Regions from separate parts of the Homo sapiens genome. Here regions 2, 3, 4, 5, 6 and 7 are each linked to region 1. Evidence: promoter capture Hi-C in human tissues and cell types (Jung and others, 2019). All regions are on one chromosome and are shown on one strand. The core of a region is centred on a gene start or on the middle of the fragment in contact, and the rest is flanking DNA. Distances in the headings are between cores, read along the strand shown. Region 1 holds the start of MYL5 (myosin light chain 5). Region 2 overlaps GAK (cyclin G associated kinase). Region 3 overlaps ZNF721 (zinc finger protein 721). Region 4 overlaps ZNF721 (zinc finger protein 721). Region 5 holds the start of ZNF721 (zinc finger protein 721). Region 6 overlaps PIGG (phosphatidylinositol glycan anchor biosynthesis class G (EMM blood group)). Region 7 overlaps PIGG (phosphatidylinositol glycan anchor biosynthesis class G (EMM blood group)).

What was found. The method cuts DNA at HindIII sites, captures the fragments that hold promoters and counts their contacts. A contact is called where the count stands out against the background at its distance.
Region 2: a contact is called between a fragment that was not itself captured here and the fragment with the promoter of MYL5 in region 1, in 1 of the 25 tissues and cell types used here (lymphoblastoid cells).
Region 3: a contact is called between a fragment that was not itself captured here and the fragment with the promoter of MYL5 in region 1, in 2 of the 25 tissues and cell types used here (dorsolateral prefrontal cortex and lymphoblastoid cells).
Region 4: a fragment that was not itself captured here is called in contact with the fragment with the promoter of MYL5 in region 1 in 2 of the 25 tissues and cell types used here (dorsolateral prefrontal cortex and lymphoblastoid cells).
Region 5: the fragment with the promoter of ZNF721 here is called in contact with the fragment with the promoter of MYL5 in region 1 in 7 of the 25 tissues and cell types used here (IMR-90 fibroblasts, dorsolateral prefrontal cortex, heart left ventricle and 4 more).
Region 6: a fragment that was not itself captured here is called in contact with the fragment with the promoter of MYL5 in region 1 in 2 of the 25 tissues and cell types used here (lymphoblastoid cells and mesenchymal stem cells).
Region 7: a contact is called between a fragment that was not itself captured here and the fragment with the promoter of MYL5 in region 1, in 1 of the 25 tissues and cell types used here (H1 embryonic stem cells).

Annotation. Positions count from the first base shown.
Region 1 is chr4:672,290-676,377 of GRCh38, forward strand. It overlaps MYL5 (myosin light chain 5), which reads left to right and starts at 2,253. Exons shown (of 9, transcript NM_002477.2): 1 at 2,253-2,394; 2 at 3,784-3,920. ATP5ME (ATP synthase membrane subunit e) reads right to left here and starts at 1,987. Exons shown (of 4, transcript NM_007100.4): 1 at 1,923-1,987; 2 at 1,623-1,677; 3 at 1,014-1,112; 4 at 147-230. The coding sequence starts at 1,958. The coding sequence ends at 211. RefSeq lists enhancers at 2,119-2,876, 2,754-2,823 and a silencer at 2,274-2,543. The HindIII fragment of the contact is 2,744 bases long and covers 1-2,526 here.
Region 2 is chr4:914,513-918,600 of GRCh38, forward strand. All of the region lies in intron 1 of GAK (cyclin G associated kinase), which reads right to left. Among named protein-coding and RNA genes, the nearest start is that of GAK, 16 kb to the right of the region's middle. RefSeq lists a silencer at 616-795. The HindIII fragment of the contact is 4,061 bases long and covers 353-4,088 here.
Region 3 is chr4:451,995-456,082 of GRCh38, forward strand. All of the region lies in intron 2 of ZNF721 (zinc finger protein 721), which reads right to left. It also overlaps the pseudogene ABCA11P. Among named protein-coding and RNA genes, the nearest start is that of ZNF721, 45 kb to the right of the region's middle. The HindIII fragment of the contact is 4,490 bases long and covers 103-4,088 here.
Region 4 is chr4:469,720-473,807 of GRCh38, forward strand. It overlaps ZNF721 (zinc finger protein 721), which reads right to left. Exons shown (of 3, transcript NM_133474.4): 2 at 2,856-2,982. The coding sequence starts at 2,889. It also overlaps the pseudogene ABCA11P. Among named protein-coding and RNA genes, the nearest start is that of ZNF721, 27 kb to the right of the region's middle. The HindIII fragment of the contact is 4,057 bases long and covers 127-4,088 here.
Region 5 is chr4:496,979-501,066 of GRCh38, forward strand. ZNF721 (zinc finger protein 721) reads right to left here and starts at 2,178. Exons shown (of 3, transcript NM_133474.4): 1 at 2,078-2,178. It overlaps PIGG (phosphatidylinositol glycan anchor biosynthesis class G (EMM blood group)), which reads left to right and starts at 2,232. Exons shown (of 13, transcript NM_001127178.3): 1 at 2,232-2,511; 2 at 3,418-3,623. The coding sequence starts at 2,358. RefSeq lists enhancers at 1,464-2,329, 1,893-2,372, 2,330-3,193. The HindIII fragment of the contact is 23,753 bases long and covers 1-4,088 here.
Region 6 is chr4:516,321-520,408 of GRCh38, forward strand. All of the region lies in intron 6 of PIGG (phosphatidylinositol glycan anchor biosynthesis class G (EMM blood group)), which reads left to right. Among named protein-coding and RNA genes, the nearest start is that of PIGG, 19 kb to the left of the region's middle. The HindIII fragment of the contact is 7,094 bases long and covers 1-4,088 here.
Region 7 is chr4:533,689-537,776 of GRCh38, forward strand. PIGG (phosphatidylinositol glycan anchor biosynthesis class G (EMM blood group)) reads left to right here. Exons shown (of 13, transcript NM_001127178.3): 12 at 130-293. Among named protein-coding and RNA genes, the nearest start is that of PIGG, 37 kb to the left of the region's middle. The HindIII fragment of the contact is 5,050 bases long and covers 1-4,088 here.

The DNA.
Region 1 (4,088 bases), core at 1,003-3,502:
TTTACATGATGCATTCTGGGTCTGTGAATGGTAATGTGGATTCTTTTGAAACCCCCTCCCTGTCTTCCACCTCACGTGAACTGGGAGGTGGACAGAACTTCAACCTAGGAATTCCACAACCAGCGACAGCAAATGAGGAGCCGGAGTATCACACAACACAGGAAGCTTTATTCATCCGCTGCTGGTCCAAAGAGTGGGTCGCAGGGTCACTCACTTTAATATGCTGTCATCTTGGGCCGGAAGGTTAGAAGAAAAGCACATGTTACCACTCAGGCAACCTAAAAAGACCACTTCAGCTTCCCAGTTATTTTTTTTTTTTTTTTTTTTGTTTTGAGACGGAGTCTCGCTCTGTCACCCAATGGCGCAATCTCAGCTCACTGCAACCTCTGCATCCCAGGTTAAAGCGATTCTCCCACCTCAGCCTTCTGAGTAGCTGGGATTACATGCACCCGCCATCATGCCTGGCTAATTTTTTTTAGACAGAATTTCACTTTGCTGCTCAGGCTGGAGTGCAGTGGCGTGATCTCAGCTCACTGCAACCTCCGCCTCCCGGGTTCAAGCAATTCTCATGCCTCAGCTTTCTGAGTAGCTGGGATTACAGGTGCCTGCCACCATGCCCGGCTGATTTTTTGTATTTTAGTAGAAATGGGGTTTCACCATCTTGCCCAGGCTGGTCTCGAACTCCAGAGCTCAGGCAATCTGCCTGTCTCAGCCTCCCAAAGTGCTAGGATTACAGGCATGAGCCACCGCACCGGGCCATGCCCGGCTAATTTTTGTAGAGACAGGGTTGCACCATGTTGGTCAGGCTGGTCTTGAACTCCTAACCTCAGGTGATCTGCCCGCCTTGGCCTCCCAAAGTGCTGGGATACAGGCATGAGCCACCACGCCTGGCCAGCTTCCCCATTTTTAAACAATCCGCATCTACTTAGCTCTGCTTAAATGTCCTCCTCCATTTTCCTTATCCCTGCACAAACCTGGGAGGGACAATCTATAAGAGCCAGTGTCACTCGTACCTTCTGCCAATTCTCTGGCAATCCGTTTCAGTTCATCCTGCTTCTTCTTCTCTTCTGCTGCTATCCTCCTCTCCTCTTCTGCCCGAGGTTTTAGGTAATCTGTTTGGCGGAATGCAGGAGAATAAAATTCACTGGAAATGCTGTACAAAAGGAACTGAGTCCACAGGTCAAGGTATCTTCAGCGACGCTGTAAACCAGACGCACCTGCTGTTCCCGCTCTTTATGTTAATGCGAGTCAACGCCTGACCTTCACCCTGACGAGTCCAACCCAGAGGCTACAGGGCCCCTGCTGCCCACCCGCTCACGCACTGGCTCACTCGTCCTCTGCGAACAGGGACTGCCTCCCATCAAGACCTCAGCACTCGAACAGCCATTTAGCACCCGTTTTCACCAAGAAGCAGCCGTTTTCGAGTCCCCCGCCCGGGCCTCAGAAGCCTGAGCTTTGGGTGAGCTGATTCCACTATCGGGGTCACGCTCGGTGGAGGACACGGTCCTGCAGCCTCGCATGCGTCCCAAGCCCCCTTCCAGAGCTGGAGTTCTCCAAATAGCACAGGAGCTCCACAGGAAAGCCGAGCAGACCCCGCCCCGGCCCCGCCCGCGGTCACTCACTGTAGCGCGTGGCTCCGTAGGCCACACCGAGGAACAGGGCGGAGTAGCGGCCGAGCTGCGAAAGAGGTTGGTCAGAGGCGGCGCGAAACGGGGCTCGCGGGACGGGGGTCGCGGGAGGAGGGGGGGCGGGGTCGCTGGGCAGAGGTCGCAGGAGGGGTGGGGGTCCGGTCGCCGGGCGAGGGTCACGGGGCGAGGATCATGGGGGCGGGGGCCGGGGGTCGCAGCCCGCGGGGTCGGAGCTGCGGGGCGGGACACGGGGGGGCCCAGAGCACTGGGCGGCGGCTGCAAAGCCTGGATCACCTTGATGAGCGGAGAGACCTGCACCGGTGGCACCATCTTGTCCCTGACCTCCGCACCGGAAGCACAACCTGCAGACGGAGCAGGATGCCGCACAAGCCAGCAAAGCCTTGGAGGCAAAGGCGGAGCTGGGCGCACGCATGCGCCGTCAGCGGCGAGAGAGCGGGGGGCCGCGCCCCCTGGCGACCGAAGGGTGACTGCGCGCCCCCGCGCGGCGGTGACGTCACGTGAGGCGCACGCGCACAAAGGCTGGGGAGTGCGCGGAGGATCATCGGCTGCGCCTGCGCAGTTGCTGCGTGAGGCGGGATCTGCGCCGAGTGGGCGGGGGGTTTCCTTTCCCCGCAGGGCTGGGGGTCCGCTGTTTCCCCGCGCTGCTGCCGAGGCCCCGCCGTCCGCGTCCTGGCCGTGTGTCCACACCCCAGACTGCGGGCCGGGGCGCACTCTGTCTTCTTGCGCGGAGCGTCGGAGGCCTGAGGTCAGGGCGGCTCGGGCGGGTCCAGCCCCGCGGACCGCGCCCACCCGAGGGTGGCCTGGGCAGGGACCTGGGGGTCCTGGGAGCGGAGTGTGAGCCGAGTGCAGGTGGCTCCCCGGGCAGGTCCTTCTCCTACAAGGCAGTAGTGTCTGTCGCCGGCCGGGCCGCGTTGGATTCCGCGGCCCGCGGGAGCATGGCCTCCAGGCCCCTCTTCCTGCGGCTGCTCTGCCCGGGAGCACGGGGCGCCCTTCATCCCGGAGCTGGAGCTTCCTCACCCCAGGATGCCCCATCACTTCTGTCCCGAAGAGGGGCTGGGATCTTCTTGGGAAGACCAGCCCCCAACAGAGGCTGCTCCCTGGGTCCCCCGACTCCAGGCCTCAGGACTCCACGGCTCCAAGGGCCTGCCCCGGCCCAGGCCTGGGGACCACTGAGCCCCACACTGGTCTTTGCTGGCCTCTGTCCACCTCCCGGTAGCTGTGTGTCTCCCACAGCTGCCCAGAGATGGGGCCTGCGGTGCCTATGCAGCCTCCCCGCTGTGCCCGAAGTGCTGACCCGCCAGCCCCATGGACACCAGGCTTGGAGTCTAGGCAGGAGCCTGGCACCCCCTCCACGTTCTGGGTCTTCCTGGCGGCAGCCATGCTGCCCGTGCTGGGCCACCCTCGGGCCCCCTTTGGCCCCATGCAGTAGTGACGCAAGGCCTCCTGTGTCCCCTCCTGGCCCTGCACTGCTACAGGCAGAAGCAACTGGAGAACTATGGCTCGGGTCTCGCTAAGGTGCAGCATCACAAACTCCAGGACTCTTGAAGCAAGCATGGGGAGGACCCGTGATCCTGGCGGCCTGGGCTACCTGTCCGGGCCTAAGTCGCCTCTGCCCCCTCTCCTGGCTTGCTCTGGGGTCCAGGGCCTGGGCCTCTCTGGCTGAGAAACTAGGAAGTCACTGGGCTCTGTTTCCTGAGCTGGGTATACCAAGGCCAGTCCTATAGGGCAGGGGTCCCCAACCCCCAGGTGCAGACCAGTACCAGCTTGTGGCCCGTTAGGAACCGGGCAGCACAGGACGAGGTGAGGGAGCATGATTGCCCGAGCTCCACCCACTTTCAGATCAGCCTGGGCATCAGATTCCCATAGGAGCGTGAACCCTACTGTGAGCTGCGCACTTGGATCTGGATTGCGCTCTGGTGAGAATCTAATGCCTGATGAACTGAGGTGGAATAGTTTCATCCCGAAACCTTCCTCCCCAACACGGAAAAACTGTCCTCCGTGAAACCTGTCCCAGGCGCCAAAAAGGTTAGGTACTTGCTGTAGGGCCACCTGATCTTTTCTCCAGCTTCTGTGAGGTTGGCTGGCAGTCCCTGAAGACTCCTGCCTGAGGCCTCTGCCTGAACCCTGTCCTCAGGGGGCCAGAAGCAAACTCCAGCCCTCCCCGTGTCTACTGCTCGCTGAGGAAGCCGCAGGTGCACACTGGATCCACAAGGCACAGAACCATCTTGGCCCTCGGCAAGCCCCCGCTTCCGCCAGGGCAGACGGCCTCAGGTGACAATGGGTTTTCCCTTCACTGGAGTTTAAAATAATCCAGACTCCTCAGCAACTCCTGCTTCCAGAATCAAAAATAAGTGTCTCTGGGGCCCAAGGTAGGGGGTGAGGGGGACATACCAGCAGCTTCCACCAGAGGTGGGGCGGGGCAGGGCACCAGCAGAGAAA
Region 2 (4,088 bases), core at 1,133-3,632, 240 kb after region 1:
ACACAGCCCCAGCGTGCACGGCCACACACACACAGCCCCAGCGTGCACGGCCCCCCACACACAGCCCCAGGGTGCACGGCCCCACACACATAGCCCCAGCGTACACGGCCCCCCGCACTCAGCCCTAGCGTGCACGGCCCCACACACACAGCCCCAGCGTGCACAGCCCCACCCCCAACACACAGAGCCCCAGCATACACGGCCCCCCGCACTCAGCCCCAGCGTGCAAGGCCCCACACACAGCCCCAGCATACACGGCCCCCAACACACACAGCCCCAGTGTGCACGGCCCCATACACACACAGCCCCAACGTACACGGCCCCCAACACAGATAGCTCCAGCATGCACGGCCCCACACACACACACAGCCCCAGCGTGCACGGCCCCACACACACACAGCCCCAGCATATACGGCCCCCAACACACACAGCCCCAGCGTACACGGCCCCACACACACACAGGTCCAGCGTACACGGCCCCCAACACACACAGCCCCAGCGCACACGGCCCCCAACACACACAGCCCCAGCGCACACGGCCAACACACACAGTCCCAGCGTGCACGGCCCCACACACACAGCCCCAGCGTACACGGCCCCCCGCACTCAGCCCCAGCGTGCACGGCCCCACACACACAGCCCCAGTATACACGGCCCCACACACACAGCCCCAGCATACACGGCCCCGTGCACTCAGCCCCAGCGTACATGGCCCCCCGCACTCAGCCCCAGCGTGCGCGGCCCCAGTGCATACACCACTGCCTTTCACTTCCTCTACTCCAGAGACAGACAGGAATAACCTAAGAACAGAGGTCAATAGAAGGAAAAACAAAACCACAAGCAGTTCTCCAAAGACCAACGAGACTGATAAATTCTAGACAGACTGATCCAGAGAGAGAGGACAGATCACCAATACCCAGAACAAGAGAGGGGACCTCCTTCCCCGACGCCCAAAAGAGGAAAAGACATAAAAGAGAATACACACCAACATCACTCACGAATGTGGACCCAAGAATTCTTCATAAAACAGCAAACCAAGCCCACCAAGACATCAGGAGCAGAGTTGGTTTAACATTTGAAAATCAATTTAATTCTATTGTTTTGGGGTCTAATTTGCTTAGTTTTCTTTTAGGTTTCTGCAGTGGAAAAACTACATCATGAAATTTAAAACTCTCAGCAAACGAGGACAGAAAGAAACCTCCCCAGCCTGATAGACGGCATCTGTGAGAGACCAACAGGAACACTGCATTTCGTGGTGCAATGTCGAATCCTCCCTTCTGAGATCAGGAAGGAGGCGGGGATCCTTGTTCTCACCACTGATGGTCGACACTGTGAGGAAGTTCTCGCCGGTGCCATCAGTCAAGAAAAAGAAATAAAAGGCATCCAGATGAAAAAAGGAGTAAAATTATTTTTATCTGCAGGTGACATGATTATCTATGCAGAAAATCTGGTGAAATCTACTAAAGAAAAGCTACCATAACAAACGCATTCAGGATGGTTGTTGGATATAAGGGCAACATACAAAAACCAACTGTGCTTCCACATGCCCAAGGTTAGGCAGTGATTTTTTAGATATAAGCACAAAAGCAGGACCCATAAAAGAAAAATAATGATAAATGGACTTCAGGAATTTCTGCTTTTTGAAAACTGGTCAGAGGATGAAAAGATAAATCACTACTAAGTTTTGCAAATCATATACCTAATAAAGGACTTCTATCGAGAAAATATTTTAAAAATCCAAGTAACAACAATTTTTTTTTCTTCTGAGACAGGGTCCTACTCTGTCACCAGGATGGAGTGCAGTGGCACTATCACAACCCACTGCCTCGACATCTGGGCTCAAGTGATCCTCCCACCTCAGCTTCCCAAGAAGCTGGGACTACAGGCATGCGTCACCACACCCGGCTAATTTTTTTATTCTTTGAAGAGACGAGGTTTCGCCAAGTTGCCCAGGCGGGTCTAGCCTCCCAAAGTGCTGGGACTACAGGTGTGAGCCACCACGCCCAGAAAACAACAAAATTTTTAATGTGCAAAAGATATGAATAGACACATCACCAAAGATATACTTGTGACAAGTACACAACGTGTCCCACCACTGCCCATTAGAGAAATGCAGACTTAAACCGCGAAGATAGGACCCCATACCTAGCAGAATACTTGACATTTAAAAACCGCCCAGACCAAGTGTCGCTGAGGATGTGGAGCGACTGGAATGCTTATGCACAGCTTTTGGAAATGGAAAATGGTACAATCACTCTGGAAAACATGTTGGCGATTTCTTAAAAAGGTGAACATAAATCAACAATACAGCCCTGACATTACGCTGCTGTGTATTTACCCAAGAAAAATGAAGGCACATGTGCGTAAAGAGACTTCTACACAGCAGCTTCATGTGCAATAGCCTAAAAATGGAAGCAACCCAAATGTCCATCAACAGGTGAATGAACAAATTACCCACACCTCTAACACTACCTAGCAATAAAAAGGAGGAAACTGCTGTTACATGCAACAACATGAATAACACACGAAAAGGCAGTATGCCGAGTAAAAGATGCCAGGCGAAAAAAGAGTACATACACATACATACAGTCAATGTACAGAAAACTCCAGAAAACACAAACGACCAGGCCAAAAAAAGAGAGTACATACACACATACAGTCAGTGTACAGAAAACTCCAGAAAACGCAAATGGATCTATGGTAACAGAAGGCCAATGCCAGGCCAAAAAAAGAGAGTACATACACACACATACAGTTAGTGTACAGAAAACTCTAGAAAATGCAAATGAATCTATAGTAACAGAAGGCCAATGCCAGGCCAAAAAAAGAGAGTACATACACACACATACAGTCAGTGTACAGAAAACTCCAGAAAACACAAATGGATCTATAGTAACAGAAGGCCAATGCCATGCCAAAAAAAGAGAGTACATATACACATACAGTCAGTGTACAGAAAACTCTAGAAAACACAAATGGATCTATAGTAACAGAAGGCCAATGCCAGGCCAAAAAAAGAGAGTACATATACACATACAGTTAGTGTACAGAAAACTCTAGAAAATGCAAATGAATCTATAGTAACAGAAGGCCAATCAGTGGTTTCCTGGGATGGGAACAGGAAAGCAGGGCGAAGGGTTACCGTGGGGAGGAGGGAGACCGTGGCGCTGACGCACATGTTTGCTGCCTTGATTAGCGTGGCAGATACAGTGTGTGACACACACATACATACATGACATGTGCCGAAACATTTAAAACATGCAGCCTGTATATCTCATTTTTATCTCAACTGTTAAAATATTTAAATAATAAATAAATCTGTGAGGAAAAACACAGATGAAAGGAAGTAAATGGAAATCCATGAAATAGAAAATAGAAAACAGATGGCTCCACTGCTAAATTACATCAAACACTTAAGGAAGAAATCACAACAAGCTTATAAAGTCTTTCATTAGATAGAGGAGAAGGGTTCCCAGCTCATTGCTTGAAGTTAGCATAACACTAACCAAAGAAGGGTATAAATACCAAATTAAGGAAAGAGATCACTCATTACCATAGACACAAAAAATCCTCAAGAAAATACTGGCAAATTGATTCCAGCAAAACATAATAAGGATACTACATCATGACCAGGTGGTATTCATCCCAGGAATGCAAGGTTGGTGTAACATTAAAAAATCAATCACTGTAGTAAACAACATTAGCAGAATAGGGAACACTGGATCACCAACAAAATTTAGAAACAACAACTACAAAAAACTGACTTCTAACATAAGACTTAATCGTGTTTTCTTCCTAAGATCAGAAACAAGGCAAGATGTCTGCTCTCAGCACTGTAAGCCAACATTTTACTGGAGATTCGAGTTAATGCAAGAAAGCTAGGAAAATTAATAAAAGGCATAAAGATCAAAAAGGAAAAACTAACGAAAGACAAAACTTCAGTTAGCTAGGAAGAATAAGCTCAAGAGATCCACTGTACAACACGGTGACTATACAGTTACTAACGACAGATTACATTCTGAAAAATGCCCCAAAACTGACAACTATGATGCAGTACATGTGTTAACTAGCTAGATGTGGTCATTCCA
Region 3 (4,088 bases), core at 1,098-3,597, 220 kb before region 1:
ATTTCCCGGTATAGATGGTGCTTGCTTACTGCTTGTAAGTTAATGTGTCAAGATAGGGACTGGTTGCTACACGAGAAATGTAAGCTGGAAAAAAAGTGCTAATCTGACATCCTGACTGGCCCTGGCCAGGCCTGTGTCTTGACTGACCAGGCTGAAAGCTATCAGCCTATTGCTGAAAAAAGCAGCTGTCCAAATAGCCGGTCAGGGTAAAACTGAAGAACTAGTCGGCTGGGGCTTGCAGCAGGTAAAAACCCAGCTCCTATCTCAAGGATGGGAAATTAACCCTAGGAAAATTCAAGAACCTGCAAAAACTGTAAAATTCCTTGGCATCCTCTGAAATACACGGTAATAGTCCATTTTACAAAAGGCTAAGGCTAAAATACTAGAATTTGCAACCCCTACCACTAAAAAGGAGGCCCAGAAATTTATTGGCTTGTTTGGATTGTGGAGACATCATATGCCCCACATGGGTAACATTTTACAACCTCTGCGTGCAGTCACTAGAAAACGCTATGACTTTCACTGGGGACAGAAAGAGAGCGTGGCTTTTCAACAAGCTGAACAAGCGGTGCAACTGACCCCAGATCTATGGCCCATACGAAACAGGCCAGTAGAACTGCAAGTAGCTGTCCTAGATCAACATGCTAATTGGAGTCTTAGGCAGAAACAAGGTGGGAAGAGGGTACCTTTGGGGTTTTGGACCCAGAAACTGCCATAGGCTGGCAAAGCTTATACCCCTTCCAAGAAGCAATTGTTAGCTTTTTATTGGGTTTTGCTGGAAACAGAGGACCTCTGCTTCAACCATGAGGTCTTTATGAGGCCTGAAATTCCTATTATGACTTGGGTCATGAGTTTCCCCAATACTCACCAGATAGGGCACACTCAAGAAAGCAGCATTATAAAATGGAAATGGTATACACAAGATAGGGCTAAGCCAGGACCAAAGGGGATACTGCTTTTGCATAAGGATGTACAAAACTTGCCAGCTCAGAAAACCACTGAGCAAGCCCTTCAGTTAGGGAAGGAAACCTCCCCCATCCAATGGGACAAATCCTTTAAAAAACTAAGCCCAGAGGACCAGAAACATGCCTGGTTTACTAATGGACCACCAAATACACTGGTGGCACTCGACGCTAGAAGGCCGTGGCTTACAGTCCTGTTAGAAAACATAAGCATTTCTGATGAAGGAAAAGGTGGAAGCAGCTAGCTGGTTGAACCAGTAATGGTCCTCTGAGCTATTTAGGAGGAGGCCAGAGGGATTTGTCAGTTGTATACCAACTCTTGGTCAGTAGCAGATGGTCTTACTACCTGGTTGCCCCAATGGCAATGAAACAAATGGTTAATTGGGAATAAAGAGGTTTGGGGAAAAAAATACTGGGAAGATACCTGAATCCTGGCACACACCACCATTATCACTGTTCTCCATGTTGATGCTCATGCATCTCTGTTTTCTCTTGACAGACTATTTAATCAGCTGGCAGATCAACAGGCCAAAATTTCCACCACAACTGCAAACTTGAATGTGGATGAATGGATTACATGTTCAAGCCTGGTAATGAGAGGCATTATAATGGAATAACCTATCTACTAATGGTCAGCACATGTGTCTTTGTATCTGAGGCCAAGGATAAATTCATCAACTGGGTAGCCACCACTATAGAAGAAGCCAACCACAATCAATGTCGGCTATGCGTCCAGCTGCCAGAGGCCGCCAGGAATGAGCTACCTTGAAGAATCGTCCGTGACAACATTTCTGAATGGCTATGTCACTATCAATGGGGCCACAACAACAACACTTGCAATCCAACCTGAACTTCCTATGACCAAACCAAGCAATCTATTTATGCCCAAGTCAAGTGAAAGGTGAACTCCACCTTCACCATGCATCAAAAGCCTTGGTATCCTGCCCAATATGCCTGGAACGGTATATATTGGGAACCTGCTGTGCTGGTGGCCGGATTCCATATAGCTCCCCACCCACCCGCCACTTTGTCTGGAGGCCTTAAATGGCTCCTCTAATGTTCCTCTGGGTTTCTCCCACCAGACAACTGTCAACACATACTCCAAATCAACAGCATTGTCCCTAATGAAACACAATCTCTTTCCTACTTTAATAACACATTAGTACACTATGATTACAGTAACTATATTGCAGTCCCCTGGGGGGGCCCTCTGGATATGTGGATACTACGGGTGGTGATACCTGCCCCTACAATGGACAGAGAGATACACTTGGGGGTGGCCATTAATTCCATCCACCATACAAATGCGCTGGACTCCCTGGTGGTGATAGCCTACTACAGTATTCTCCCCTGCTGCTGGTACAATCCTGCTTCAGCAGCAAATTAAAATATTAAGTTTACATGTAGACAAAGCTCTTAATGATAGTAGCACTGGACTTATGTTGTTGTCAGAGGAATTTGCTCAGCTGTGTACTGTTGTGTTGCAAAACTGAATGGCATTAGATATGCTTACCGCAGCCCAAGGAGGGGTTTGAGCCTTACTGCATACTGAATGTTATGTGTATATCCCTGACAATTCTCACAATCACTCTCCTTGCAAAGCCATGGTGGGTGTGGTTTTTATTAACTCTGCTTTTAGTTCTCCTGTGCTTACCTGTATCTGTAATCTATATCAACTATGCCTTCCCCATGTATCTGTAAGGGTATTTTCCTACAATTGAGGATCAAACTGAGGCCGAATGTGGAGGAAAAGTTAAATATTAAATTTGAACTCAATTGAACATGGACACAAACAACGGTCACCAAATCCCGGAATGGGCTGTGTGAGCCCCTTGACACGTTCATCCAGTGCCGTTTTGGAGAAATCTCTATTTCAATCTATTCCTATATGTTAGTTATTGAAAACAATAGACAATTGCAAAAACAAGTTGATCTTTTTGTGTTCCTTGAGCTCAGGTGCAAAAGCCCCTCGTGACTGGGCCTCATGCCAAACAACTCATTACAAAAAGAGCTAGGGTCCCACACTGCGCCAAAGCTTCACGAGACCTCTCCTCATCTGTGCACGGATGAATGGTGGACTCTAGAGCCCAGGCTGTTTTGCTTCCCGGTCTGGTGGTGAATCCTCCATAGTCTGGTGAATGTAAATATATGTATCTCTTTTCCCTTCTCCCCTTCCCACTGCAATCTGCTTATTATATCATTTGCTTATATACCTACATTGCCATTTACATGGGATAAAGGTTGTTTACCCTTAAAGATATTGTGTGTGTGTCTTTCCTTCTCCTTTCACCCCGCAGCACACAACAATCTTACAAAAACAAAAGCCTGAGGCCAGTTGTCCTGGCTCACACCTGTAATCCTAGCACTTTGGGAGGCCGAGGCGGGCGGATCAGCTGAGGTCAAGCGATCGAGACCATCCTGGCCAACACGGTGAAACCCTGTCTCTACTAAAAATACAAAATTAGCTGGACATGGTAGTGCACACCTGTGGTCCCAGCTACTTGGGAGGCTGAGGCAGGAGAATCGTTTGAATCTGGGAGGCAGAGGTTGCAGTAAGCCGAGATCGTGCCACTGCGCTCTAGCCTGGCAACAGAGCAAGACTCCATCTCAAAACAACCAACCAACCAACCAAAAACCAAGCCTAAGAACATTATGTGAAGACAGTAAAAAAGAAAAAAAAAGAAAGAAAAAATATTACACCAATGACAATATAAAAATCAGTCAAAATTACAGAAACAGTAAGTAAAATGGTGTTCTTCAAGAGCTGAAGAAAAAGAAAAAAATGGCAGTTTATAGTTCATAGAGTATTAAACTTTACTTTTGTAAGACAAAATGTAGAGATCCATTTCAAAATAATGTAAATGTACTTAACCCCACTAGACTGTACACTTGAAAACCTTTAGGCAATTTTATGTTTTTCATCACAACTAAATATTTACATCTACCTAAAAAGGTTCCATTTTTCAAAAATCACCTTTGAATAACAAGTGTTTCTCTCACAAAACATAATCAAACAATAAATAGGTGGTAATATTCCACTGTTTCTTTGCCTACTCACCTACAAAAGAAAACAGTCATGATCACCAAAAAAATTTTTATTTATTTATTTATTTATTTATTTATTTA
Region 4 (4,088 bases), core at 905-3,404, 200 kb before region 1:
CACACATACAAAAACCAATGAACAGAATAGAGAGCCCAGAAACAAATCCATGCATACAAGGTCAACGAATTTTGGCAAGGGGATCATGAATATACAATTCAGAAATTATAGTCTTGTCAATACATGGTGCTAGAAAAACTGGAGAGCCACAAACAAAAGAATAAAAGTAGAACTTTTTTTTTGAGATGGTCTCGTTCTGTTGCCCAGACTGGAGTGCAGTGGCGCCATCTCGGCTCACTGCAAGCTCCCGCCTCCCGGGTTCACGCCATTCTCCTGCCTCAGCCTCCCGAGTAGCTAGGACTACAGGCATCCGCCACCATGCCCAGCTAATTTTTTGTATTTTTAGTAGAGACAGGGTTTCACCACGTTAGCCAGGATGGTCTCCATCTCCCGACCTCGTGATCCACCTGCCTCTGCCTCCCAAAGTGCTGGGATTACAGGCGTGAGCCACTGTGCCTGGCAAAAGTAGATCATTGTCTTATACCATACCCCAAAATTAACTCAAAATGAAACACTTACACGTAAGACAAAAACCTTAGAACTCCTGAACAAAACATATGGAAAAACCTTGATACTGGTCTTGGCAATAATTTTTTGATATGCCATCAAAAGCAAAGCAACAACAAAAAATACAAACAAGTGGGATTGTATCAAAGTAAACTGCTTCTTCACAGCAAAGAGAAACAAAATTTCTAAAAACTCTACAGGATAGAAATATTTGCAAGCGATATACCTGATAACAAGTTAATTTTGGGAGAACAAGGCGGGAGGATCACTTGAGGTCAGAAGATCGAGACCGGCCTGACCAACATAGAGAAACCCCATCTCTACTAAAAATACAAAATTAGCCAAGTCTAGTGGTGCATGCCTGTAATTCCCAGCTACTTGGGAGGCTGAGGCAGAAGAATCGCTTGAACCCAGGAGGCAGAGATTGCAGTGAGCCGAGATCATGCTACTGTACTCCAGCCCGGGCAACAAGAGCAAAACTGTGTCTCAAAAAATAAAATAAAATAAAATAGAAGGCTGGGCGCAGCAGCTCACACCTGTAATTCCAGCAATTTGGGAGGCCAAGAGATCGAGACCATCCTGGCCAACATGGTGAAACCCCACCTCTACTAAAAAATACAAAACTTAGCTGGGTGTGGTGGTGTGCACCAGGAATCACAGCTACTCGGGAGGCTAAGGCAGGAGAATTGCTTGAACCCAGGAGGCGGAGTTAGCAGTGAGCTGAGATCATGCCACTGCACTGTAGCCTGGTGACAGAGGAAGACTCTGTCTCAAAAAAAAAAAAAAAGAAGTTAATATCCATATCCAAAATGTTTAAGAAACTTCTGCAATTCAAAGCAAAACAATAATAATGATGATAACCCATTCAAAAATGGGCAAAAGGTTAGATTTTTTTTCCCAAAGACATACATACAAGGTATATGCTGTATGCTGTTAGTGAGATGTAAATTGATAAAATCATCATAAAAACCAGTAAAAAATAAAAATGGACATATCATATAATCCAGCAATACCACTTCTGGTCATACTACCAAAGGAAATTAAATTAACACCTTGAAGAAATATCTTCAGCCCCATGTTCATTGTAGTATTTTTACAATAGCCAAAATATAGAGTGTATATATACACAGTAGAATATTATTCAGCCATAAGAGAAAAGAAAATCTAGTCTTTTACAACATGGATAGACTTGGAGGACATGATGCTAAATGAAATTAGCCAAACACAGACAGACAAAGAAACTGCTTCTTTTTACATAGACGGGTAAATCTAAAAATGTAAACTCATAAAAGCAGAAAGTAGAATGGCGATTGTTAGTGCCTAAGGGTGGGAATATGAGATGTTCAAAGAGTATAAATTTTTAGTTATAAGTTGAATAAGTTGAATAAGGAGAAACCTAAGGAGAAACCTAATGCTAATGTACATTAGCATTAGATTAGCAAAACAGTATTCCATTTATAATTAATAATACTGTAATGTATGCTTACAATTTGCTAGGACACTAGGCCTTAAGTGTTCTTATTACCAAAAAAATCATGATCTATATGAGGTAATAGATATGTTGATCAACTTGATTATATTTTACTTTACAATAAAATATATGCATATATTACAAAATATATGCATATCAAATCATTACATTGTACACATTAAATATAGTTAAACAATTTTTATTTAACAGAAAAATCCATGTCACACAAACACAGATGAAGAGTAAGTCCTCACTTAATGTTCAAAACAGGTTCTTGAAAACTGCAACTTTATATGAAGCAATGTTGCTATATACCAAACATAACTCGTTTGTATCAATTAAACTTTGCTAAAATTATTATTTTTTGTTTTTTGGTTTTTTTGAGACGGAGTTTTGCTCTTGTCTCCCAGACAGGAGTTCAATGGCGCAATCTCGGCTCACTGCAACCTCTGCCTCCCAGGTTCAAGTGATTCTCCGCCTAAGCCTCCCAAGTAGCTGGATTACAGGCACCTGCCACCATGCCCAGCTAGTTTTTTGTATTTTTAGTAGAGACAGGGTTTTGCCATGTTGGCAAGGCTGGTCTCAAACTCCTGACCTCCTGATCTGCCCACCTCAGCCTCCCAAAGTGCTGGGATTACAGGCGTGAGCCACTGCACCCAGCCCTAAAATTCATTTTCCTAAATGATATGTTGCTTCACTTACAGTTTCTGAGAATCTATCAACAATGTTAAGAATTTACTATACACATATATAACTTACATAGCTGTGTGTGTGAGACACACATTTTTATATAGATATATCTCAAAAGACATTCTACAAAAATAGAAAATAAAACTCAGAGGGAGTATTAGGAATTATGCATTAAAGTTATCCTCACCTAGGGAGACCAGGTTTCTGTAGTTCTCCAACATCACATCTCTATACAAATTCTGCTGGGCAGGGTCCAGGCATTTCCACTCTTCTGGAGAGAATTCTATGGCCACATCCCTGAATGTTAAGGGTTCCTGAAAATACATATGTATCAAGTGACAGAGTTCTTAATTTGACTACAGGTGAAATGTGTTAAGAGAACCAGTTCTGACATGTGACTGACTGGGATTATCTGATAAAACAACTTTCAACACAGTAATGTTCTCTAAAGTATTCTATAGCTCTGCGGAAAAAGGAAGGCATTCCAACAGTTTCTGTTCCTGCAATAAAAATAATGGGCTACACTGACCTGCCCCTACCAAAACCAAGCAGAGTAGGCCCTGTGACCTCCTGGAAAACAGGTTGAACTCACCTCTCATGAAAATATCTGGAAGTCCTCATGCTTGACCTTGGCCTTGCTATAATATGCGAGGAACTTAATTTAAAAAACAGAAATGTTTCCACCCAGAACAATAGACAGGATGTGAGGGGAGGGCACAGGTGATGATTTCACTTCACTACGGGAAGACTGGGCTGAGAGTCACTTAGCTAAGCACTGTCTCTCAAGCTTCAATGCGCATATCAATTATTTGATGTTAAAGGCCTCACTGTACCAAAATTTTGCAGGTTTGAAAAGAGTCCATGAGTTAGCGTCTTTTATCAAGTCTCCTGTTAACGGTGATGCTCCTCCACCTGGACCCATTATAGTACTACTCGGCTAGAGAAAGCAGACACAGCACACAGAGTCCCTTACCCCAACACAAACGCTTTTCATCCCAAGACAAGACCACCAATCATCATCCTGATGCCACTCGGGAGCAGCCACGCGGAGGAGGCGCACAGGGCAAGGGGACTGGTGGGAAAGTTGGGGCGGGCTGGTGATTCGCTTCACTTCCTCACACACCTCACAAAAGTCTTTTTTTTCAAGACCCGCTGGCAGCCCCCAAGCCACGAGCCACAGCCGGCGCTGCCCCATTAATGAGTCCCCGTTTGCTCACATGAACTCTATGTTTTGATGGGGCCTCGATCTCATTCCGTAAAGTAGGGACAGGACCCCTGGACCACAGCTCCTCCTACGCGGTACCTGCGCACGCCGCACCTGGCGTCTTCCCGATGAGCTTCTCCTCACCCCACAGCCCGGGGAAGGTGCAGGGTTGCGGCGCAGAGCTGCACAAGGAGGGCTGCAGGCTGGGCCAGAGCA
Region 5 (4,088 bases), core at 928-3,427, 180 kb before region 1:
TGGGATTACAGGCGTGAGCCACCGCGCCCAGCCTATGACTTCTGAACGCTCTAAGTGTAAGCAGAAATAAACACCAGCTGGTTGTTAATGTTATCTTTAGTCATTTAAAAAGAATTTGCAAGACAAAATTCCAAATCAATTTTCTTACCTAGTGATGGGGCTCAAGCTGAAGACGGCTATCTGTCGATGCAGAAGCAGGCAGGCTTGCCTTCCTTGATGAAGCGAGTGGGAACTCCCAAAAAAGGAGTTTTTTAACAGCAAATAAACCTCAGACCCCCCACCGAAAAACGTTGGAAGATCAGGGATCCCTGGAGGAACAAGGTCCCAGATTTCAGCAATCATCCTACCAGTTTGGGCAATAAGGTGCCAAGCCAATACCGAGGATCAATAGGCGAACTGCTGCAGGCCGGGTTACCTTCACTGAGGATCTCTCAGTGCTTATCAATGTCAATCGAGAAAAATGACAAGTCTTAATCATTTCAGGAGGCTTATTTCCCAAAGTTAAGGACGCCCATGACACAGCCTCCGGAGATCCTGACGACGTGGGTCCAAGGTGGTCGGGGCACAGCTTGGTTGTATTCATTTTAGGGAGTCACGAGATATCAATCATATGTATAATAACAGGCCGGACAGGGCGCGGTGTCTCACGCCTGTAATCCCAGCTCTTTGGGAGACAGAGGCGGGCGGATCACGAGGTCAGGAGATTGAGACCATCCTGGCTAACATGGTGAAACCCGTCACTACTAAAAAATACAAAAAAAAAAAAAAAATTTGACGGGCGTGGCGGCGGGCGCCTGTAGTCCCAGCTACACGGGAGGCTGCGGTAGGAAAATGGCGTGAACCCGGGAGGCGGAGCTTGCAGTGAGCGGAGATGGTGCCACTGCACTCCAGGCTGGGCGACAGAGCGAGACTCCGTCTCAAAAACAAACCAACAAAAAAAAAACAGGCCGGGCGCGGTGGCTCATGCCTGTAAATCCCAGCACTCTGGGAGGCCGAGGCGGGCGGATCACGAGGTCAGGAGTTCAAGAACAGCCTGACCAACATGGTGAAACCCCGTCTCAACTAAAAATACAAAAATTAGCCGTGCGTGGTGGCACGCACCTGTAATCCCAGCTACTCAGGAGGCTGAGGCAGGAGAATTGCTTGAACCCGGGAGGCAGAGGTTGCAGTGATCTGAGATCACGCCACTGCATTCCAGCCTGGGCGACAGAGTGAGATTTCATCTGAAAAGAAAAAGAAAAAAAAAAAAAAAAAAAAAAAAAGAAGGACATTGGTTCTGTCCAGAAAGGCGGGGGCAACTTGGAACAGGGAGGGGGCTTCCAGGTCACAGGTAGGTGACAGACAAATGGTTGCAGTTTCTGGGTTTCTGATAAGCCTCTCCAAAGGAGGCTATCAATATGCATTTATCTCAGTGAGCAGAGGAATGACTTTGAATAGAATGGGAGGCAGGTTTGTCCTGAGCAGTTCCGAGCTTGTCTTTTCCCTTAGTTTAGTAATTTTGGGGCCCCAAGATTTTCCTTTCAGAAAAAAGAAAATGTGGTATATATACACAATGGAGTACTATTCAGCTCTAATAAAAGAATGAAACCCTATCATTTGCCACAACACGGATAAACCTGAGGATATCATGTAAGCAAAATAAGACACAGAAAGACAAATACCTCATGATCTCACTCATGTGGCATCTTTAAAACGAAGTTAATCATTAAGATATTTACCAGTTGTCTGAGGTATTGGGTTGAATTTTCTTTTTTTTTTTTTTTTTGAGACGCAGTCTCGCTCTGTTGCCAGGCAGAAGTGCAGTGGCGCGATCTCGGCTCACTGCAACCTCCGCCTCCCAGGTTCAAGCGATTCTCCTGCCTCGGCCTCCCGAGTAGCTGGGACGACAGGCACCCGCCATCACGCCCCGCTAATTTTTTGTATTTTTAGTTGAGACGGGGTTTCACCATGTTGGCCAGGATAGTCTCGATCTCCTGACCTCGTGATCCGCCCGCCTCGGCCTCCCAAAGTACTGGGATTAAAGGCGTGAGCCACTGCACCCTGCCTTCCAAATTAAAAACTTTTTAAAACCTCGTACCTCGCCGTGGGCGGCGACCGTCGCGGACTCGCCGGGAAGACGGCCCCACGGAGCCGGGAACACCGCCCGCTGTTCGTATGTCCGAGGTGACGCCCCGCTGTGGCGGGCTGGCGGAAGTGACGCGCTGCTGTGGCGCGCCGGCGGACGTGACGCCACTGTCGCTGCGACGATAAGGCCTGGCGTTATTGCTTAGAGGCGGCTACCTGGAGCCGGAAGCGCGGCTGCAGCAGGGCGAGGCTCCAGGTGGGGTCGGTTCCGCATCCAGCCTAGCGTGTCCACGATGCGGCTGGGCTCCGGGACTTTCGCTACCTGTTGCGTAGCGATCGAGGTGCTAGGGATCGCGGTCTTCCTTCGGGGATTCTTCCCGGCTCCCGTTCGTTCCTCTGCCAGAGCGGAACACGGAGCGGAGCCCCCAGCGCCCGAACCCTCGGCTGGTACGGACCCCTCCCCGGCGTCTCCGCTCCCCTGACCCCACATCCCCTAGAAGACCTTTTTTCTGAGCCTCGCTGCTCGGATTTCTTCTCGGCGCTCCCCGGTGGTCTCTTCCATTATGGTCCCCACCTCAGAAATTTTTTTTAACCGCTCCAGCGTCTCTTTTCTGTATTCTTACAACTTTGTGGCAACCACCTCTACTGGCCCCACTTCGACCTTCCTTCCTGATCACCACAAAGTAAGCTGTGTCCATACCTGGGATCCAGCCTCTCCACTTCTACTCGTCCAGAGCTCCCGCCCCTTTCCTGAGCAGCCTTTGGGTCACTCCCCGTTATAGGCGCCCTTTTTGCCCCCTAGCACACAACAGATAAGACCCCTGCCGATCCCCTCGCGTTTTGGTCTCTTATATTCCTCCAAGATGTTTTCCCTGCCTAGGGGCTAAGGCCTCTCTGCGTTAGGCCTCTTCCTAGGCTTCACCTACCCAGCCATATACAGCAAGTAAAGGCGCCCTGGTTCTGGACCACTTGCACACATCGCCAGCCGCTGACCATGTAAACGCAGTATGTAAACGCCCAGCCATCCCGTAGCTGCAGCTCTGCGTTTTAGGTCAAGCTCCCTAAATGTCCCATTCCAGGACCCTTACGTAGGGATTCTCCTACCCCAGTACTCTTCACCATACTGAGGATAATTCACTGCTTGCTACTGTGGGTCCCTAAGATTACTCCTGTTAACCCCCGTCCTTTCCCCCCAGCACTACCTACCAAGTACAAGTCGCCTCCTTTTGGGTTGGGTTATGTAGATATCGCAGGGTATGTGCTGGAGAAGTAGGTAGAAGCTAGATTGTGAAGGTGCTTGATGCTAAGGAAAGTTTAGAGTTCAATTTCCTTTTTTTTCTTTCAAACACTTAGGAGCCAGTTCTAACTGGACCACGCTGCCACCACCTCTCTTCAGTAAAGTTGTTATTGTTCTGATAGATGCCTTGAGAGATGATTTTGTGTTTGGGTCAAAGGGTGTGAAATTTATGCCCTACACAACTTACCTTGTGGAAAAAGGAGCATCTCACAGTTTTGTGGCTGAAGCAAAGCCACCTACAGTTACTATGCCTCGAATCAAGGTAAGTTTGCCTTAATGTTTTATGAATCATGGTTTGGCTGTTTTGAAGATTTAGAGGGGGTCTCTGTAGTCTTTCGCTTGGAGTTGCAATTTTAAGAAAGTGGAAATTTTGTGCTGTCAGTTGGCTGGGGCAATAGAATGTTGAAGGAGCCTCACACGGGATGGAACTGAGACCCATCATTTGTGCCCCATGTCAAGTAGCCAAAGCTCATGCTTCATGGCAAATATAAAAGATTTAGAGCAAGATCATCCAGGCTAACCTACCCCAAGATATGCCATTCTTGGTGACCTGCTTTCTTCTTTAATCGTCACTGGGTCATTTACAATCTTAGAAGGAGCCTTTAGAGTTAATCTAGTTCAGTCTCTAGACTTTATAGATAGGAAAGCAAACTCAGATAAGTTAAATGTGACTTCTCCAAAATTATCCACCAGTATACATAATGATCAAATCAGTATGTTCCGGCCT
Region 6 (4,088 bases), core at 1-2,500, 160 kb before region 1:
GTGTTTCTGTTTTCTTAGAACTTTGAACTATCACCATTGGCAGCACCCTCAGATGCAGTTATCTAAAGTTCTTTCATAAATTTATTCATTCAACAACTATTTACCAGGATCTTGTTATGAATGAGAGGCTGTTAACAGGCACTGGAGACAGAGCAGGTACGAGGCTCTGCCCTCATGGAACCTTCCAGAGGGAGGAGAGAAAAGGAAGTGATCGATGGCCGATGGTGACGAGTACCTTAGGAAAAGAATAAACAGGGCTGGGTGCGGTGGCTCACGCCTGTAATCCCAGCACTTTGGGAGGCCAAGGCAGGCGGATCATGAAGTCAGGAATTGAAGACCAGCCTGACTAACACAGTGAAACCCCGTCTCTACTAAAAATACAAAAATTAGCCAGGCATGGTGGCGGGCACCTGTAATCCCAGCTACTCAGGAGGCTGAGGCAGGAGAATCGCTTGAACCCTGGAGGTGGAGGTTGCAGTGAACTGAGATCGCGCTACTGCACTCCAGCCTGGCAACAGAGCAAGACTCTGCCTCAAAAAAAAAAAAAAAAAAAAAAAAGAAGGAATAAACAGGCGTGGGGTGGGAAGTGAAGCGGGTGGGGGAGCCACTGGGGCAGGCTGGCCGCTGGCCATCTGGGAGGGCACATTACAGGCTGTGGGGGCAGCAGACAGGGTCCTCCATGGGGCGCACATTCAGGGGATGGTCAGAGCAGGGGCCAGAGTGGCAAGGGCAGGGCAGAGGAGATGGCATTAAGGGGTGAGGGCCACTGGGCGCTGGAAGGGCTTTCACTTGTATTCTGAGTTAAATGGGGAGCTGCTGCAGGGTTTGGTGAGAGCCAGAGTCTCCCACTTGCATTTTCGAAGGCTGTCTCAGGCGCCCTCGTGGAGGATTCTGCTTTGTGCTGTAGGAGGAGACCAGTCAGGAGGCAGTGGCTGTACTTCTGTGAGAGGTGAGGGTGGCCAGGGCCCAGGCAAGGGTGGTGAAGAAGTGGTTGCATTCTGGAAAGATTCTGAAGGTCATGAAGACAGGATTTGCTCACGTGCTGCGATATTGGGTACGAGCAGACCAGAGGCGTTAGGTACGACTCCGGGGCTTTCAGCTGAAAGCAAAGAGAGTAATAATTTCCTCAGGAGGGCACGACTTAGGAGGAACAGTTCTGCAAGGCAGGTGCTTGTGGGTGGGGGTGTTGGTGTCCAGGAAGCCATGTAAAGAAGTAATTTCAGGAAGCATGGAGTGGGCAGCTGCGTCAAAGGTTGGTATTGAATAAAATCAGGAATTGAGAACTGAGCTTTGGATCTGGCCATGGAGGGTGATGAGTGGCTTCGTCAGATGGAGAGTGGGGGAAGGCCTGGCTGGTACTAGGCAGGCGAGAGCCCTAGGCAGCAGACACTGCGACTCTAATGGGAGTAGGAGGTGGAGTTGCCTGAGGCAGGTGTGGGGCCAAGGGAGGTGCCAGGAGACAGCTACAGGAAGGGTCCAGGAGAGGAACGTTTGTCTCCCTGGGATGTCTTCAGACAATCGACTCTGACGCAGCCGCGTTCATCAAGAATCATGTTTGATACTGGGACTCCTTTGAGAGCCCGGAGGAAGTCGACTCCTATTTGGGGGCAGCAGTTAATGTGGTGTTGGCAGATTTCCCTACTTGAAGTAGAGGGATACTATTACTACCAAATAGAGTGAACGTCCACAAGCTTGCGCTGAGATGTAAACCGGCCTCCTAGAGTCACGTGTGGAAGACAAACCTGGCCAGCCAAGGAGTGCTTGGGAACCGGATGTGATGAGTGTCTGGAGGCCCCACCGAGCACCAGCTCTCACCCTGTGAGGTGGAGGACTTTGGCCATGGAGCCATTTTAGTCAAGACCAGGGACAACAGTGACTTGTGCTTTTCGTTTTTTAAAAAATAGTATGAGTTTGGTAGCTTTTGCATATTGCTTGTTTTGTTACTGTGTCCTTTTTTCTACGCTAAGAGTGATAAAAACACCAACAAAATTGGCCAGGTGTGGTGGCTCACGCCTGTCATCCCAGCACTTTGGGAGGCTGAGGCGGGGGGATCACAAGGTCAGGAGATCAAGACCGTCCTGGCTAACACAGTGAAACCCCATCTCTACTAAAAATACAAAAAATTAGTTGGGCATGGTGGCAGGCGCCTGTAGGCCCAGCTACTCGGGAGGCTGAGGCAGGAGAATGGTGTGAACCCGGGAGGCGGAGCTTGCAGTGAGCCGAGATGGCGACACTGCACTCCAGCCTGGGTGACAGAGCGAGACTCCATCTCAAAAAACAAAACAAAAAAGATACCAACAAAATCAAAACAACAATGGAAGGGTTATTTGCCTGTTCCAGAAGTAGTGGCTGGGGGAAGATGGGAACCACAGTGGATATGAGAGGAAACCAGCCTGTTAAAGGAATGCAGGAGCCTCCCTTGACTGAAAACACAGCCACAGCGTCTGGAACCCCCCCTGGCGGCCCATTGTCTACACCGTCGGGGATCCTTTTTCCTAAAACAAAATGGGGTATGTGTTCTGACACTGAAATACGTTTTAGAACCCACAGCCAGGCCCGTGCAGTCCCTCGGTGGCGTCCAGTCTGTTGGAGGCTTTGTGCCCACCCGGCTCTCTCAGTGTAGTGGGACCGGCTTTTTCTCACCTCTGGACTTTTGCACATGCTGTTCCCATCAGCTTGATGCTCTTCCTGCAGTTTTTTGCCTGGCGAATTCCTGGGTACCGTTTACATTTCAGCGTAAACATCAGACCTTCCTGGTCCAGCGCCCACTCCCAATCCAAAATCAGTTCCTCCCCATTACCAAAAATCCCTCATTGATACCCTCTACTTTTCCTTCCTGGGAAACTTGTAATTACAGCTGTAATGCAGTCACAGTTTGTAATTACGCTTGTGTGCGTGCGTGCGTGTCTGTGAGCCCTACTGGATCCAAGCCCCAGCAGGCAAGGATTGCACCTGCTTGCTCGCCATGCTGTGTCTCCCCTGGCACAGCGCCTGGCACAGTGCCTGGCACGTCGTCCACGCTCCATGGATATTTGTTTCGATGCATGCACAGGTGCACCCCCATAGCTTTGTGACTCTCTGATAGGCGGTGGGGTGTGGACACAGGCGTCCCCCCATCCAGGGTGGTAGGTGTAGCAATGAAGGATGCCAGCCCTGGAACCAGACTGCCTGAGTTTCATTTGCAGCTTTTACCCACTGGCACTGTGGCCCAGGTGCGTGACTCACCCTCTGTGTCTCAGTTGCCTCCTCTGGATAACAGTTCTGATGCTCATCCCTGCCTCATAGGGTCATTAGGGAGGTGAAACGAGCGAGCCGCCTAGTGTTGCTGGCTACTGGCACTTAGTGCAGAGCACCTGGTGCCGGCAGCAGTGGGGTGGGCCTGCAGGCGTGTGGGTTCATGCTTAGGGACTTGGTGCCTGCAGCAGTGGGGTGGGCCTGCAGGCGTGTGGGTTCACGCTCAGGGACCTGGTGCCGGCAGCAGTGGGGTGGGCCTGCAGGCGTGTGGGTTCATGCTTAGGGACTTGGTGCCTGCAGCAGTGGGGTGGGCCTGCAGGCGTGTGGGTTCACGCTCAGGGACCTGGTGCCGGCAGCAGTGGGGTGGGCCTGCAGGCGTGTGGGTTCATGCTTAGGGACTTGGTGCCTGCAGCAGTCGGGTGTGCTTGCAGGCGTGTGGGTTCACGCTCAGGGACCTGGTGCCGGCAGCAGTGGGGCGGGCCTGCAGGCGTATGAGTTCATGCTCAGGGACTTGTGCCACAGCACCCTGGACCTCAGTGGCTTGAGCGCCTGTGGCAGCTCTTTCACTGCTGTGATAGCAGGCCTGGGGCATGCAGAGCCACAGGGTGGGGCGAGCCTGCCAAGAGGCACAGCTGAGACCCTTCTTGGCATGGCTCTTCTGGAGTAGGAAGCTCATGTCAAATACCGAGGGGGTCTCAGGAAGGAAGTTGTTGCTTTGCAGACCAGTCTAATCACAAGTGAGTGTGGTCCCGGCAGAGGCTCACGCATCAGCCAGCTCGGGAAAGAAAGAACATCAGCTGTGCCGTGAGCAGCATGGCACTGTGGTTTAAAAGAGGTTGCCATAGCAGAGGGGC
Region 7 (4,088 bases), core at 478-2,977, 140 kb before region 1:
TGTGTCCGTGCCGGCGTGGTTATCTGGGCTGCCTACACAGTTCACGCTAACATCGTGGCTCACGCTAACATCGTGGCTGTTGATGCCACGTGTTGTGAGGCCTTTGTCAGCTCTTCTCCTGTATTCCAGGGCAACTCCAACAACATTGCCACCGTGGACATCTCCGCAGGCTTCGTGGGCTTAGACACCTACGTGGAAATCCCAGCCGTGCTCCTGACAGCGTTTGGGACGTACGCAGGGCCTGTGCTGTGGGCCAGCCACTTAGTGCACTTCCTGAGCTCAGAAACACGCAGGTGAGGCGCCTCTCTGCCGTCAGCACAGTTCTGGGGGCCGGCTGCCTGGTTTTAAGGGTCGTACTTTGTTCCAGATGCAAGGGGGTCTAAGCTCCATGGGTCCAACAGTCTTTTCAACAGTTTTCTTTTCCTTAAATAGGGAACGGTCCAAAGCTCAAGGGCCAGAAGCCGGCCTGAGGTGTCCGTGTAGGGCCAGGGTCGGGTCTGACGGGGCCTCGCCGGGCTCCCCAGGGTTGGGTCTGACGGGGCCTCGCTGGGCTGCCCAGGTCACACCAGCACATGGTTTCTAGACACAGGAAGGAAAATTCCTTTTCCCGCCACTCCAGGTTTTTCTGTTTGCTGGTGGCCAGATGGAGGGCGGGTCGTCCTTCCCCTTTGGGGACATGAAGATAAAAGACGGCTCTCGGCCCCCAGAGACCCTGCTGGAGCGCGCAGGACCCTGGAGAAGGCTCCTGGCCAGGGCCGTGGCTCTTCTGAGTCGTCCTTGAGTAGCTAGGGGCATGTCCCTTCCACACATAAGCTGATTTGGGTTGGAAAAACAGGGTGGGGGGCACAGGGAAGTTCAGAGACGTGAGCCCCGTCCCCTGTCGCTGAGAAGTCCCTTCAAGCTGCGTCTGGCCTGCCCTCCATGCTCTCCTGCCTGGTCCACCTCGTTCCCTCCAGTGAGCCTGAGGTCTCCTCTCCAACACCCACCCGTCTCCTGGCAGCTTCGTGCAGAAGTTCCACCGGGGGGACCCCAGATCAAGGGTGCAGTGCAGCCCCTCATCCACATCCCCATCTCCTGGCAGCTTTGTGCAGATGTCCCCGGGGGATCCCAGATCAAGGGTGCAGCCCCCCATCCACACACCCGTTTCCTGGCGGTTTTGTGCAGAAGTTCCCCCCGGGGGACCCCAGATCAAGGGCGCAGCCCCCCATCCACATGCCCGTCTCCTGGCGGTTTTGTGCAGAAGTTCTCCCGGGGAAACCCAGATCAAGGGTGCAGCTCCCCATCCACACGCCCGTCTTCTCTGCAGCGTTCCCACCGCCGCACACTCTCTGCTTCCTCATCGTATGTTTCTTGCTCCCCCAAGAAAGGAGGCTTTGTGAGGCAGGGGCTTCACCCGCTCTGTTCACCATAGCAGCCTCAGTGCCTGGCCTGGCGGAGTCAGGTGCTGAGTGGAGTGTGGCGGGGGTGGGTGATTCTGTACCTCCCAACTTGGTCTGGCAGAGACCCCAGGGCCTGCAAAGTTATTCGACTCACATGTGCCTGGTTTTCCCATCTGTAAAACGGGAGTTGCTGGGAGCTCAATGGGGGACACTTGGAAGCGTTCACAGCCTTTGGAGGGGCTAGTGGCCCCTGCGGCATCTACTAGAGTGCCCCGTGCTCCACGCTTGTCCCTGCTGCCAGCCACAGTCACGAATCCCCGCAGCGCCTATGCATTTCTGCGTGTGCTGAAACCGCGCACCGCGGCCCGGCCTCCTCCCGGGCAGGCGAGCGTCTGGGACACTGACTGGACCAGCCTCCCGCACTTTCTGGGTGGCTTTGGGCAGGTCAGCCAGAGCTTTGCGTGTGTCCTGTGGTGACCGGAGGCCCCAGTCCTGCCGGGAGCCCCAGGGAGCGCGCTGTGGCCTCTCCGCTGAGCAGTGAGGCTGGAGGGCTCCTACGTCCTCCCATGACTGAACCGTCGCTCTCGCGGTGCTGACTGCTGAGCCCCCGTGCCAGCCCTCCCAGGACACTTGGAGGCTTCTCCTGCCGAGCTGCCGGCGACTCCACAGAGCATCTGCACGTTTCTGTGGTCCCGCTCCGCCCTCTGGCTTCTGCTCCACAGCCTCCTTCACCAGGTCATCCTCTCAGCTCCACGCAGGTCCTCTCCCCGCCTCACTCCCCTCCCCAGACCAGCTCCTGAGACCCAGGCCACAGGGACCCTTGGCCTTGCCTCCAGACCCAGATGCCCAGCCCCCTGTCGACATTCCGCAGAGGTGTCCTCGGGCTGACAGGACTGAGGAGCCCTTTACAGGACATGCGGGCAGGGCCCACGCACCCAGGCACGCACACCCGTGCCTGCCTTTGAGCTTTTCCCACCCTGAAAGGAGCCCCTCGCCGCTCACGTCCTGTGTTGAGGCTCTCACAGCATGAGTGCTTCGGAGCCAGAGGAACCGTCCACCATGGTGGAAGTGTTCGTGCCCCGCAGACTCGGCGGGCCCGGGCTGGACCCCTCAGTCGCTCACAGGTTTCCGTAAGGGGTCGGGGGAGCATTGGCCTTGCTTCAGCAGTGATAGGCGCGTGCCTTCCCACAGCGGACATGGAGCCTTTCCAAGGGGAGAATCGCTCCCTGGCCAGACTGCAAGCTTCCCGGGGACAGGAATGCCTGAGATCCACCTGCCTTTTCTTCAGGTGCCTGTGGACGCTTGACACGCCCACTTTGGGGCAGTCTGTGGACAGACCCCCGTAATTTACAGTCACCGCTGAGCTTGTCATCACAGCAGAAAGCTGAGGCTCTGCGGGCGGAAGCCACCAACAGACCAGCTTGGGAGACACCCACTGTGGCGGCGCTGTGTGGAGACGTCCTTCCAGACTTCGATTCTGCATAAAAACAAACATCTGCCACGAGACCCCTGCTCGGCGTCCGCCTGTCTCAGCAGCTGCCCTGGGACGTCTTTCTCTGACTTGGTTTTGAGGCCAGCCGCGTGCTCACACTGGCCTTACAGAAACAGGAGACGCCGTCCTCGGCCGTCTGGGGTGGGCTGTCAGCACGTCGTGTGGTCAGGTGTCAGGACAAGCGGGCGTGAGCGCGTGGAGGTGCATCTGCCTCTGCCCTGGAGAACGGATGTGCTACAGCTGTGCGCGGCGTGATCAAGCACCTGTTGGGTGGACGGCACACCTCCCAGTGGCCAGCTGGAGACGGAGGGCTGGAAGTACTTGCCCGGCTCCTCTCTCTGTAGGTTTGGTCTTCGGCCTTGCAGCTGCCCTGGTGCTTGCAGATTGCGGTTTGATGGACCAGGCACTTTTCATCTCTTACACAGCCAGGCACGTTTGTGTTTGGGAGGGAAAAAGACAAATATTAAGTGAGGTGAAAGCATTTTGATCAACTGGAGAGTATCATGATATTTTTCCTAGTCAAGAAGCATTTCTCCTTCATTTTATAGGGTTTTCTTCTTCCCTTTTAAAAGTTTAAAGCATCAAGTTTTACTCATGGTTTCTATTTTGTTTCAGTAGAGTAGGAAAACTATAACCAGGTCTAAATTGTAGACAGAGAAAATATGTTTCCAAAAGGTCAAAAACGTGGCCTTGAGTGGTTGGCGACCCTCTGTTCCAGGGGCTGGCACCCCGGGCTGCCTGCTCCCCTGCAGCGCAAATGGCTCTTTGCTAAAGTGGTGGGAACAGCAAGCCGCCATCTTCTAGGTGGGTAACGCTATAAAGTGTTAAACTGAAGTCAAGGTGGTGCCATGTCTAAGCCACAGCTTCCCCATGCGCTGTCTGGGTAGGATGGGGCCACGGCCCACTTAGCCACGAATCTTCCTGCCCAGTATGTTCACCTTTTCCTGGGTGTTGCTGTCACCAGGAGGTGTATTGAGGATACCTTGGGGTCCACCTCCCTGTGGGGTCCCCGGCCTGTGGGGCTGGATACCAAGTGGTGACCAGCGGTACGGGTTTGGGGGACCCGCCTAAGGAGCCAGGGCCTGGCAAGGAAAGCAGTGAAAGGACCAGAGGCACCGGCCACCCACCGGGAGATCCCAGGGTCTGAGTATTTTACTGGAGCACATGGCGGGCTGAGGTGAAGGAGTGTTTGGAGAAGCCAAGAGGAGGATGGGCCC